Regions from separate parts of the Homo sapiens genome. Here all the other regions are linked to region 2. The links are contacts of gene promoters, found by promoter capture Hi-C in human tissues and cell types (Jung and others, 2019). All regions are on one chromosome and are shown on one strand. The core of a region is centred on a gene start or on the middle of the fragment in contact, and the rest is flanking DNA. Distances in the headings are between cores, read along the strand shown. Region 1 has its middle 33 kb from the start of SPEF2. Region 2 holds the start of PRLR (prolactin receptor). Region 3 overlaps SPEF2 (sperm flagellar 2).

Region 1 (3,782 bases), core at 600-3,099, 350 kb after region 2:
GCTAAAAGTATTATTACTTTGTGGAAACATAATTAGTGGATTTTACACAGATTACACACATGTATACCTTTGTCCTACTGCATCTACTTTAGAAATAATATCTGGTGTCTTCTGATTGCTTACGGTGTTCTATATAAATGCCTATCTAAGCTACTTGATCTATATTATTTCATTCTTACAACAAACTTATAAGTATTACTATCTCCATTTTATAGCTGAGGAAACGAAAGATTAGGGAGCTCAAGGGTCTTGACCAAAGTTATACATCTTGTGAAAGGTAGTCAGAATTTAAAACCAAACAATCTGGCATCTAAAAATACATACTTAACTACTGTACCTATACTGTCTTTAGGCAGCTAGCATTCCACCAGTATAGTTTATTATATTTTGACCATGAATCATACTAACTCCTTACCCATAATGCAGTGAAAGTAGAGTCAGGCACCACATAACAATGGTTTGATTAATCATGGACCACATTTATGACAATGGTTTCATAAGATTATAATGCTATAATTTTTACTGTATCTTTTCTATGTTTAGATACATGAACGCTTACCAATGCATTACAGTTGCCTGTAGTATTTAGTACAGTAACATTCTGTACAGGTTTGTAGCCTGGGAGAAATAGGTTGTACCATCTACGTTTATGTAGTACATTCTATGATGGTCATATAAGGACAAAATCACCTAACAACGCATTTCTCAGAATGTATCCCCATCGTTAAGTGACACATGACTGTATAGTGAATTCTCTTTAAGAAACAGTGCTTGTTTAATAGTTTCTTAATGTTTCTGGATAAGTTAAGTTCCCCTTAGTAAAGGGAATCAAAACACATATTTATAGAGTGCCTATTTTGCTACATTTTGAGGAAACAAAAACAATCATGCATGTTCCATGCTTCTGTGGAATTGCCTCTGTAACCTCTCTGTAGTATGGACATTTAAAGATGCTAGTGAAATAAATTGCTATTGGTGTCATAATAGAAGTATTTGCACAGTTCTAGAGTGAGGTTAATTTTATAGACTTCATAGAGAAATAGAATATTGAACCGTGTTTTGCAAAATATGTTGGAATAAAGGGAAAAGGGGTATTCTAGACAAAAGTCACAGCATGGATAGTGGAATGGAGGAATGAAGTATGTTGAATTGAGAAACATCCAGAGGGACGATTATGGTAGGAATGGAGAGAGGAGGAAATGGAAAATGTGTTGATACTGAGGTGGGAGAAGTAGACACAGAGAAGATTTTGCAATGTCTTGTACTAAAAGACTTGTATTTTATCTTCTAGGCAACCAGTAGTCATTTCAAAGCTTTGATCCAGGATGCAGCATAGTGAGTTTTACATTTTAGGATGATTCCTCTCATTATAGTATAAATAGTAGATTCAAGATGGGCATATTGGAGTAATAAAAGGACAATTTCAAGACTCTCATAACAGTTCATGTGAGAAGGACTGAATACCTTAACTAAGAATCAGTGGAGATCAATGAATACAAAAGATGAGAGGGAGCTGGTCTTAAGGATCTGTTAACAGATCTTGACCATAGCTCAAACAAGAAGGATAAAGGAATGAAGGTGTCTTGGATAGCTAAGAGGTTTCTGAGTTAGAATACCAATGCCAAAATCTTCTATGACATCCTACCAATCCATAAAAGGTGAGTCTAGAGATTCTCAACAGATATTGTATGGCTGCCCAGATATTTTACTGATGTCCAGTGCAGCTTATATTTGAAAGACGTAAGTTTCAATTAAAAAAAACTATAAGATCTTTCAAAAACACTCAGAAAGTGTTTTATATTCTTCCTGAGTGACAGTTACATTTCAACCATCCATGACATTTTTCATCATTCTTGCAAGCATAGATAGAAATTATACTGGCTTTGAATTGTCATTCTGAATTGCACCAAATGAGATAATGGCTACTCACTCTGATTGCTCTATAGATTTTATAGGCAGCTGATACTACTGAATTTTTAGTTCTAAAACAAGAAAATTGTTAAACTTTTGAGCTAAGAAATTTTGCTCATTTTTGTCTATTTTTCTCTGCTTGCTAGAGTTTTATAAACTCAGGACTTCCTTTACCTCAGCTCTAATGCAATGAGGTTCTTGATTTCCTAAGCAACTAAGCAAGAAACCTTAGAATGTACCTTACTTGCTTCTTACTGTCAAATCACTTAAGAGTGTTGCTGATCGTTAAAGCCTACAACTCAGGCTTTTTTTTTCTTTTTTCTGAAAGGTATATTGATAGAAAGGTCAAGCTGGCATTAACTAATAATTCCATTATTCATTGAGAAATTATGTCTTATCTGTACTGAGTGAAGTGATTTTAGTACAGGAGACAATGTACAAGGATTTTCCTACTTCTGTTGAAGGTGATGTGCATGTGAGTGTTACATACTTCTGCTTGTGGGCTTCAGGTACAACAAATCACTTTGTGTCCCAATATGGTAACCTGTAATTATCCTCAGCTTGGATGCAATAACCTTTACAACAAACATCTTCAATTTCTTATTTTTCACAGCGCTCTACCAGGGGAATGAGTTAAAGGTGGGTATGTTTGTATAAAGGTATCTAAGCAGAATTTGGAGTAGTAATTTGGCAAAATTTTCCAAGACAGTAGTAGTATGAGAAGGGTCATGACAACATTTATGGACTTGAAGATATACTAAGCATTTCCGGTCTGAGTGGCTTCTGCCATAAAGTTGACTGCATCAAGGCAACTGGTTAACTTGAACCACTTAGGAGGTATAGGTGTTATACAAATGCAGTGTACTGTGCTTGGTTGGTACCATTTCTGCTTAATACTACTTACTTCAAATTCTGTATTTTCTTGCATTTGTAATACTTACAGGCTTTCTTTCCTTTAAATGTATATTACTTCTTTCTTGACATAAGAGTTTAATTATTTCTAGGGGTTTTTTATTAGTTGCTGTTAAAACCATCTGATAAATCTAGAAGGTGATTTCAGTATCCTTTGAAATTTTTTTTCATTTTTGCCCTTCAATTAAACAATTAAATGTACTGAATTTTCCTAGGTTATTCTTACATGCAAAACACCATATCAGTCAACATGGAAAACACAAAGTTGTATAAGACATAGTCGCTATCTTCAAGGGTCTTGTAATCTAGTAAGAACAGCAGTGAAGTGCACAAATAACAATAATTAAAGGCATACGGTGGTAAAAAATTGAAGGAGGATGAGGCAGGAAGATTGCTTGAGCCTAGAAATTCAAGGTTACAGTGAGCTATGATTGCACCACTGCACTTCAGCCTGGGCAATAGAGTGAGATCCCGTTTCTATTTTTCTTAATTGAAAATGATATATAAATAAAATGCCATAAAACATAAAAGAATAAGATTAACTATTAGTAAAGATAGGTGCAGGAAAAATGTTTATAGGAGAGTTGACATTTGATGTGGACATTGAAAGATATGCAAAATTTTGATATGATAGCTTGTTGAAGCACAACAAGTGAAGAACAATAGTTGTAGTGATGGGCATAGATAAATGGTAGATTCAGGGAAGATCTTGTGAGTTCTTGAATGCTGTGCTAAAAACTTTGATTTCTATTCTGTTTATGCTTAAAAACAAAAACAAAACAACAACAACAAAAACACAAATATCCCAGGCTTAAGCAAGAAGGTGACATGATCATATCTCTTTTATTAAAAGTTCATTTTGGGGCTTCTGGTTTTACCTCTAACATGTAAAAATCTTGGTAATGTCACTTCCAGTCTTACAACAAGGAAAACACTGCACAAATTGAAAACCAGTTATT
Region 2 (3,769 bases), core at 578-3,077:
GAGTCATTAAAAAGGGTTGTGAGGAGGGGTCCCCTGGAGTCAGAGGCTGGTAGAGCTCTGGAGAGAGCATGTGGGGAGCTCACCCATGACAGGGGAGCTGTCTCCTTCAGCAGCGTGGCTGACTCCAGACCCCCAAGAAGGCTGTGGATTACTCCCACAGTCAGCCCAACCAGCAGCAAGGAGTTGGCTGGGTGGTCTTGATACAGGAGGAGGAATAAGGGATTGTCACCTGGGATTCAGGCATGGCTTTCAGGGAGTATCCACAAACCCTCAGGGATTGCATGTAAAATTTTATGTACATGCCATATGCATTTTGCCCCAGGAAGAGGACTCACAGCTAATTCTCAAAAGGACCTATCACCCCTAATTTTTAAGAACCACTGAAATTAATATTTTCATCTGCTCCTCTCTTGCACTATTCAGCACTTCCACCTCATTAAACATTTATATATATATTATATATATTTCTATAATATATATATATAATTAATTAATTCCCTAAACTTTGCAGAAAAAAAATCGAAGCCCAGAGAGGGTAAGTATCTTGCCCAAGTTTGCACAGCTGATGGTCAGGATTGGGATTAGCAGCACTTCCCTGGTCAAGTGAAGCACGATTTCAGGTGGGAAATCTTGCCCGGTCAACTTGACAAATGAAGACAAAGTGATCCCTCCAGACTAATAATAATGTTTTGCAACCATTTTCAAGTCCAGTCATAGAATCCCCTACGTTGCTTGTTTTCAGGGCAGTGTGGGTTGCTTCCCCAGGATACAGGTAGAGGTCACTAAAAGGATAGTTTTCTACTCAAAGAGCCAGAACTCCAGCCCTTGCCTTCCCCTGCCGTAGCACTCGGGCCGGCCCTCCAGTTACCTGAGTTTGCCTGACTTTAACCAACTCCTCTTCCCTTCCCTCCTCCCTTCTCCAGCGGGCTCTCCTTCCAGCTTCCTCCCGGGCTGCAATTCCTCTGCCTAGGTGCCTCCGTCCAGCTCCGGCTTCTGGCCCGGAGGCTGCTCATCTGCCCCTACCCCCGCTGACTTTTGGGAGGAGCAACACCTTTCAGGTCAGCATTGCTAACCCTAAACTTTCCCCGCCGGATGCCCGCGAGGCTGCTGCGGCGGCGGCTGCTGCTGATGGGAGAGTCTCGAGTCCGGCTTTCATCACATCACCTGTCTGCGCCCCTTCCCCCTCCCCGCTCTTTTTTTCTTTTCTTTTTATTTTGACGCAAATAATTTGCATTCTGAGAATCCCACAATCAACGCCGAAACTCATGCTCAAGGATACAGGTGAAGATGCCTTTGACAAAGGCGAATGCGAGCCGAGTGCAGTTTGTAAAAGCTGGGGTTGGGGGCAGTGGTGGAGGCAAAGCACCTTAAGAGTATTTTTTAGCCCCTCTGAGAAGGGACATCCGGGCGGGAGGCGGGCGGATCCCGGGCTTCCCCGCCGGCTGCCGACTCTGGCTCCTGGCTGGCGTTCTCTCCAGGAGCCCGCGCCGGTGGCCCCGCTCTCCCCTTCAGCACGCGGGCCTCGAACCCGCATCCCGGAGAGCGGCCGCCCGCGCAGCCCCTGCCGCGCGCCGTCGGAGGCGGCCTCAGCTCGCCATGGGTACTCACTTTTGCCAGGGAGCAAAGTCTGCCACATCAGTCGATGAGTACTTCCTGCACGAGGACATGAAGCTCCATTGTGTGGAAAGCTGTTTCGCGAACGGTCGGTAAAATCCAGAAAGAGGGAGAAGGAGTGAGTAAGGCAGAAAGCCCAGCCCAGAAAACCGGCGTCTGGGGATTTCAGCCTCCGCTCCCCGGTCCCCAGCCCGGTGGCTCTGTGAGAAGAAGCTCAACTCGGTGCACTTGTTCACTCTTTCTTCATGAGAGGAGGAGTCAGTGTTGCAACATTTATGTTCCTTGCTGGAGGCAAAACAGTGATTTTCTTCAGCATGCAAAACGTCCAGAGCCTGCCAGTTTTAGAAGGCGACGGAGGTAGTTGGGGGAGCTGGAATCCTGCGAAGACCTGAAGAAACAACTGATTCCCCCCAGATCGGTTTTGCATGATTAGGGCCACATATCTTTCATTGAGACTGTACCAGAAAATAGACAGACAAAACAATAATAAAAATGACTTAGTGAGTTGAATGACCTCAAAGATGATATTTTTCCAGGCAGCCAAGATGTGGAGTGTCTCCGTGTCAAATTTCTTTCCTTATTTCTGAGTAACATTGAACAGCAGCTATATTTGAGAGGTTCTCCAGGGATTTGAATTGCACCTTGCCTGAGGAGTCAGATAGAAAGGAGCAAAAGAAGATAGTCAGTGACCTAAGAAGGTTTTGCTTTTTTTTTTTTTTAATACCCAAAGCGCAAACTTCTAGTGTGCTGTGTTTATTCTCTGCCATATGAATATAATAAACATTGGCGGTGCCTAAATAGCCCCACTTCTGTTGTTTTCCACAAATAAAGAATTTATCTTTTCTAATGGGCTGCATGTTGTTCTGACTTTTCTTCTTCTTGAAACCACACACAACCGCCTTTTCTCTTGCAAAAACAAAAACCCCACATTTAACAGTGCTGAAACAAATAATAGCACCTGCCTGAATCAAATAGTTATTTCTGACTATGTATGTTGCTGGTGTCATTTGATGCCATAATAATTAATGCATCCGATTGTTACACAACCCAGAGGGCCACCAAGGAAATACTTTAAACCAAGGTTACTGAGTTTTTTTTTTTGTTTGTTTTTGTTTGTTTTTTTGAGACAGAGTCTCGCTCTGTCGCTCAGGCTGGATTGCAGTGACCCCATCTCGGCTCACTGGAACCTCTGCCTCCTGGATTCAAGCAATTGTCCTGCTTCAGCCTCCCGAGTAGGTGGGACTACAGGCGCGTGCCACCATGTCCGGCTAGTTTTTTGTATTTTTAGTAGAGATGAGGTTTCACCCTGTTAGCCAGGATGGTCTTGATTTCCTGACCTCATGATCCACCCACCTTGGCCTCCTGAAGTGCTGGGATTACAGGCGTGAGCCACTGCGCCTGGCCGTTTTTTTTTTTGTTTTGTTTTAAGTTATTGAAACATGAGGCTTTCCCCTTTGATTTGACTGCTACTCTGGATAACTGGGAAATCACAGTTAGCAGTGAGCATTTGCCAAGCCACAGGAAGCCATTGAAAATCCCATGATGCTTTGGTGATCCTTTTGGACTGGAATCCCAGAAGCAACTACCTAGGCATAATAACCTAATACTTCCTGATCAATAACACGTCCTTATTAAAACATAGACTCCACCTGGTTCTGTTAGCTGATGGGAGATGCATCTTTCACGTGCAGACCGCACATGCTTCCTGTGATGATTAGGGTATATTTACTTTCATTCATGGGTGTCCATGAAGGTACGCAACTTCTATTTATTTTCAGAACCACTGGGCGACATGAGATCCTCAGTGGCAGAATATTTCTATATGACCTTTGCAAAGCAAAGGGTCACTCAATTCTACAATAGTTGTTCTAATCAGACTATTTTAACAGTTAGTGAAATAGAAGATCACTCTGGGTAACTCCAGACTGTCAGCTCTTAGAAGGCAGGGACTTGGCTTTTCCTCCTTGTGGTTCCCACTCAGCTGCAGGCAGCTTGGCTCGTCTGTACTCCTGGCTTACAGACTGGTCGTTGCGTGGCTAATCCATACCTCACTGGTAAGAAGGGCAGGGCTGGCTTTCTGCTCTGTTGTGTAGCACACAGGCACTGTCACAAAGCCACGGGTACTCATTGTCAGTGAGTTACCTTGCCCCAGCTT
Region 3 (4,277 bases), core at 395-2,894, 500 kb after region 2:
GGTTTTTTTTTGTTTTTTGTTTTTTGTTTTTTTTTGAGATGGAGTCTCGCTCTGTCACCCAGGCTGGAGTGCAGTGGCATGATCTTGGCTCACTGCAAGCACCGCCTCCCAGGTTCATGCCATTCTCCTGCCTCAGCCTCCTGAGTAGCCGGGACTACAGGCGCCCGCCACCACGCCCGACTAGTTTTTTGTATTTTTAGTAGAGATGGGGTTTTACCGTGTTAGCCAGGATGGTCGCGATCTCCTCACCTCGTGATCCACCTGCCTTGGCCTCCCAAAGTGTTGGGATTACAACACAGTTTTGTAGTTTCCTCTATAACAAGACTGTAAACTGTCATAACAACTTAGAGGAGGGAATAATACATTTTATTTAGAATATCAAAAAAGGCCCTCACTGCAAATTACCTTTTAAAGTATGAGTTCATTGGGTAGGGAATATTATAGGAAGAGAGAATCTCAGTCTGAGAGATTGTCTCAGTGCATCAGGAGCAGAAGGTTTAAGGACACAGCTTTAGGAGGCAGTTCACAGGAAGGCAGGTGCCAGATTTAGAAGGATCTTAAAATCTGTGCTGAAGTGTTTGGACTTCATCTGCATGGTAGTGGAAACCACGGAATGTTTTTCAGCAAGAAAGTAACATGTTGGAATAATTTTCACTACAGTAACTCAGAGAGACAGTACAGTGAATTGTTTAAAAAAAAAAAAAGTGGATTGTGACTGGTCTATGTTCAAATCCCAGCTATGTCACTCAGCAGCTACATGACCTTGTACAAGCTGTTTAACCTCTGTTGCTTCAATTGCCTCATCTTTAAATAGTAAGAGTAATAGAAACATATCTTTTAAGTTGTTGTAGGACTTTAATGAGTTAGTCCACATAAAGCCCTTTAAACAGAATCTGGCACAAAGTAGGTTCTAAATAAGTGTTCATTGTTTTAAGAATAGAAGGTAATTCAAGGATATTGAAAGGAATCACAGAGACCTGTTTGGAGGCCCCTATACTGCTCTAGACAAGAACTAATAAAGGCTTGAAGGAAGGCAATGACATAGGGAAAGAGGGAGGAAGGGATAGAATCTGGGAATGGTTCAGAAACTGGGTCTTACCCACTTCTCAGATGTCATCTTTCTCCAGTCCTACTTTGTTTCACCAAGCCCTGCAAACACTAGCCTGCATTCTCTCCGTTACATATGCCAAGAACATTCCCACCACAGTGCCTTTGCATCTGCTGTTCCTTCTGCTCAGAGTGCTCTTCCCCTAAATCAGTGGTGTCCAATCTTTTGGCTTCCCCGGGCCACAAGGGAAGAATAATTCTCTTGGGCCACTCATAAAATACACTAACACCAATGGTAGCTAAGGAGCTGAAAAAAAGAAAATCACAAAAACATCTCATAATGTTTTAAGGAAGTTTACGAATTTATATTGGGCCACATTCAAAGCTGTCATGGGCTGCCTGTGACCCACAGGCCATGGATTGGACAAGCTTGCCCTAAATCTTCCTTCTTCTCAATGCCAACTGCAATGCTGCTTAATGAAGAGGCCTTTCCTGACCATGCTAAACAAAGCAGCACCTCTGTCACTTCACAACACTTAGTATGTGAATTGCTTTCTTTTTTTTCTTTTTTTTTTTTTTTTTTTTTCAGACAGAGTCTCACTCTGTCACCAGGCTGGAGTACACTGCTGCAATCTCAGCTCACTGCAACCTCCGCCTCCCGGGTTCAAGCGATTCTCCTGCCTCAGCCTCCCAAGTAGCTGAGACTACAGGTGCATGCCACCACGCCTGGCTAATTTTTGTATTTTTAATAGAGATGGGGTTTCACCATGTTGGCCAGGATGGTCTCAACTTCCTGACCTCAAGATCCACCCACCTTGGCCTCCCAAAGTGCTGGGATTATAGGCATGAGACACCACGCCCGGCCATGAATTGCTTTTTTATTGGCTAATTAAGTTGCCTAGGTCTTTACTACTTACCTTCTTACTGATTTTCCTAATTACTTATTACTTCTTCACTGTTTCCTATCTTCTATATGAATATAAGCTCCTAAAGCCAGCAACTCTGCCTTATTCACCACAAAATTTCTAGTACCTAGGAAAGTACCTACCTACATAGGATGACCACTTAGTGAATAATTTTTGGTTGATTTACTCATTGGTTTGGACAAAGTAAGACACATAAGTAATGATAGAATGACTTGGATCAGATCTCATGTATCCTGAATCCCAGTCTTACTCTCTCCTCACTAATGTTACCAGTCTTCAAATATCTGACAGGCTGCCATAAGAAAGTTAGTGTGAATGTAGTCTGTCCTTCTCCAAAGAGAATAGCTAGGACTGAGTGGAAATTACAGAAAGACAAATTTCTGCTCAACAGAAGAAAAAGTTTTCCAGTAACATGAGTTGTGCAACACTGAAGGAGGCTGCCTTGAAATTCTGTGCTTGATACATACATGAGGTCCACAGGGAGATTAGATAATGTATCTGTAGCATTTGGCATTTCTTGATTGGAGAGGAAATTAGCCCAGATGACCTCTAAGGTCTCCATGTGTAATTCCCTGAGTGAATAAATGCGCAGCCAATAAGGGAATAATGAGTACAGCAAGAATATACTAAATATAATATGGATCCTCAGCTTTATTCATTTAGATTATTTCTTGGTTTTGATTGTTTATTTGCATTATTAAATAAAATATAAAAGAAGCTTTCTGATTTTCATTATGCACACAGCAATGAAAGAACCTTCTAAATGTAATCGGAGAAATAACTCATCATCACACTGATATGAACACTACGTGTTCTTCATGCTAGACAGTTTCCTAACTGAGACAAAATGTGTCACCTGTGATGATTCAATTTATTCATTCAATAACTATTACTTCAGGGACTACTATGTCCCAAACACTATGGTAATTAAAGAAAAGATGGCATGAGAGGACTTCAAAAGGCTTGTGGAAAAATTGAATTAAAAGATAAAATTAAAAAATAAGCCTTATTTCTCAACGTAAGCTTCAAGATTAAGACACCTTTGTAGGAGATAATACCAACAATGCGGTCCATCCTTAAGGAAATGAGGGTCCCAAGAGTTGAACCAAGTCAATGCAGTCTTTTTTACATTATTTATTAAATAAAATGGATACCCTTTACAGATATTTTAAGATTAAGAAAAAGAAGAAAGATGGAGCCAAATCAGAAATATAAGGTGGATTGTATTAGTTTGTTTTCACAGTGCCATAAAGAAATACCCAAGACTGAGTCATTTATAAAAGAAAGAGGTTTAATTGACTCACACAGTTACACATGGCTGGGGAGGCCTTAGGAAACTTATAATCATGGCAGAGGGGAAAGCAGGCACATATTAACTACATGGAGGCAAGTGACAGAGTGTGTGTGTGTGTGTGTGTGTGTGTGTGTGAAAGAGGAACTGTCAAACACTTATAAAACCATCATGTCACATGAGAACTAACTCACTATCATGAGCACAGCATGGGGAAACCCCACCTTATGCTCCAATCACCTCCTACCAGGTCCTTCCCTTGACACATGGAGATTATGGGGATTATAATTTGAGATGAGATTTGGGTGGAGACACAGAGCCAAACCATATCATGGATGCCTAATGATTTCCCATCAAGAGTTTTACAAAATTGGTCTTGTTTGATGAGGGGAATGAGCAGGAGAATTGTTTTGGTGGAGAAGAACTCTTTGGTGAAGCTTCTCAGTTGTTTTTCTGCTAAAGCTTTAGCAAACTTTCTCAAAATACTCTCATAATAAGCAGATGTTATTTTTCTTTGGCCCCTCAGAAACTTCACAAAATGCCTGGAGCATCCAAAAAAATAAAAAAAAACACTGTTGCCATGACCTTTTCTCTTGACCCAGTCTGCTTTTACTTTGGTTGGACCACTTCCACCTCTTGGTAGCCATTGCTTTGATTGTGCTTTGTCTTCAGGATCATACTGATAAAGCTACATGTCATCTCCTATTACAAATTCTTTGAAGAAATGCTTTAGAATCTTGACCTCACTTGTTAACAATTTCTTTTTTTTTGTCATATCCTCATTTATTAAACTTACGTATATTAAATGTCATTACTCACCACTGTTCTCTCTTCTTTCACCTTGTCTCTCTTATGATTTTTTTTATTATACTTTTAAGTTTTAGGGTACATATGCACAATGTGCAGGTTTGTTACATATGTATACATGTGCCATGTTGGTGTGCTGCACCCATTAACTCATCATTTACATTAGGTATATCTCCTAATGCTATCCCTCCTCCCTCCCCCCACCC

Evidence for each region. The method cuts DNA at HindIII sites, captures the fragments that hold promoters and counts their contacts. A contact is called where the count stands out against the background at its distance.
Region 1: a fragment that was not itself captured here is called in contact with the fragment with the promoter of PRLR in region 2 in 1 of the 25 tissues and cell types used here (H1 embryonic stem cells).
Region 3: a contact is called between a fragment that was not itself captured here and the fragment with the promoter of PRLR in region 2, in 1 of the 25 tissues and cell types used here (heart left ventricle).

What each region holds. Positions count from the first base shown.
Region 1 is chr5:35,582,761-35,586,542 of GRCh38, forward strand. No RefSeq gene overlaps it. Among named protein-coding and RNA genes, the nearest start is that of SPEF2, 33 kb to the right of the region's middle. The HindIII fragment of the contact is 5,578 bases long and covers 1-3,782 here.
Region 2 is chr5:35,228,660-35,232,428 of GRCh38, forward strand. PRLR (prolactin receptor) reads right to left here and starts at 1,828. Exons shown (of 10, transcript NM_000949.7): 1 at 1,609-1,828. The HindIII fragment of the contact is 8,302 bases long and covers 1-3,769 here.
Region 3 is chr5:35,733,098-35,737,374 of GRCh38, forward strand. The region is part of intron 21 of SPEF2 (sperm flagellar 2); the gene reads left to right. Among named protein-coding and RNA genes, the nearest start is that of SPEF2, 120 kb to the left of the region's middle. The HindIII fragment of the contact is 3,407 bases long and covers 1-3,348 here.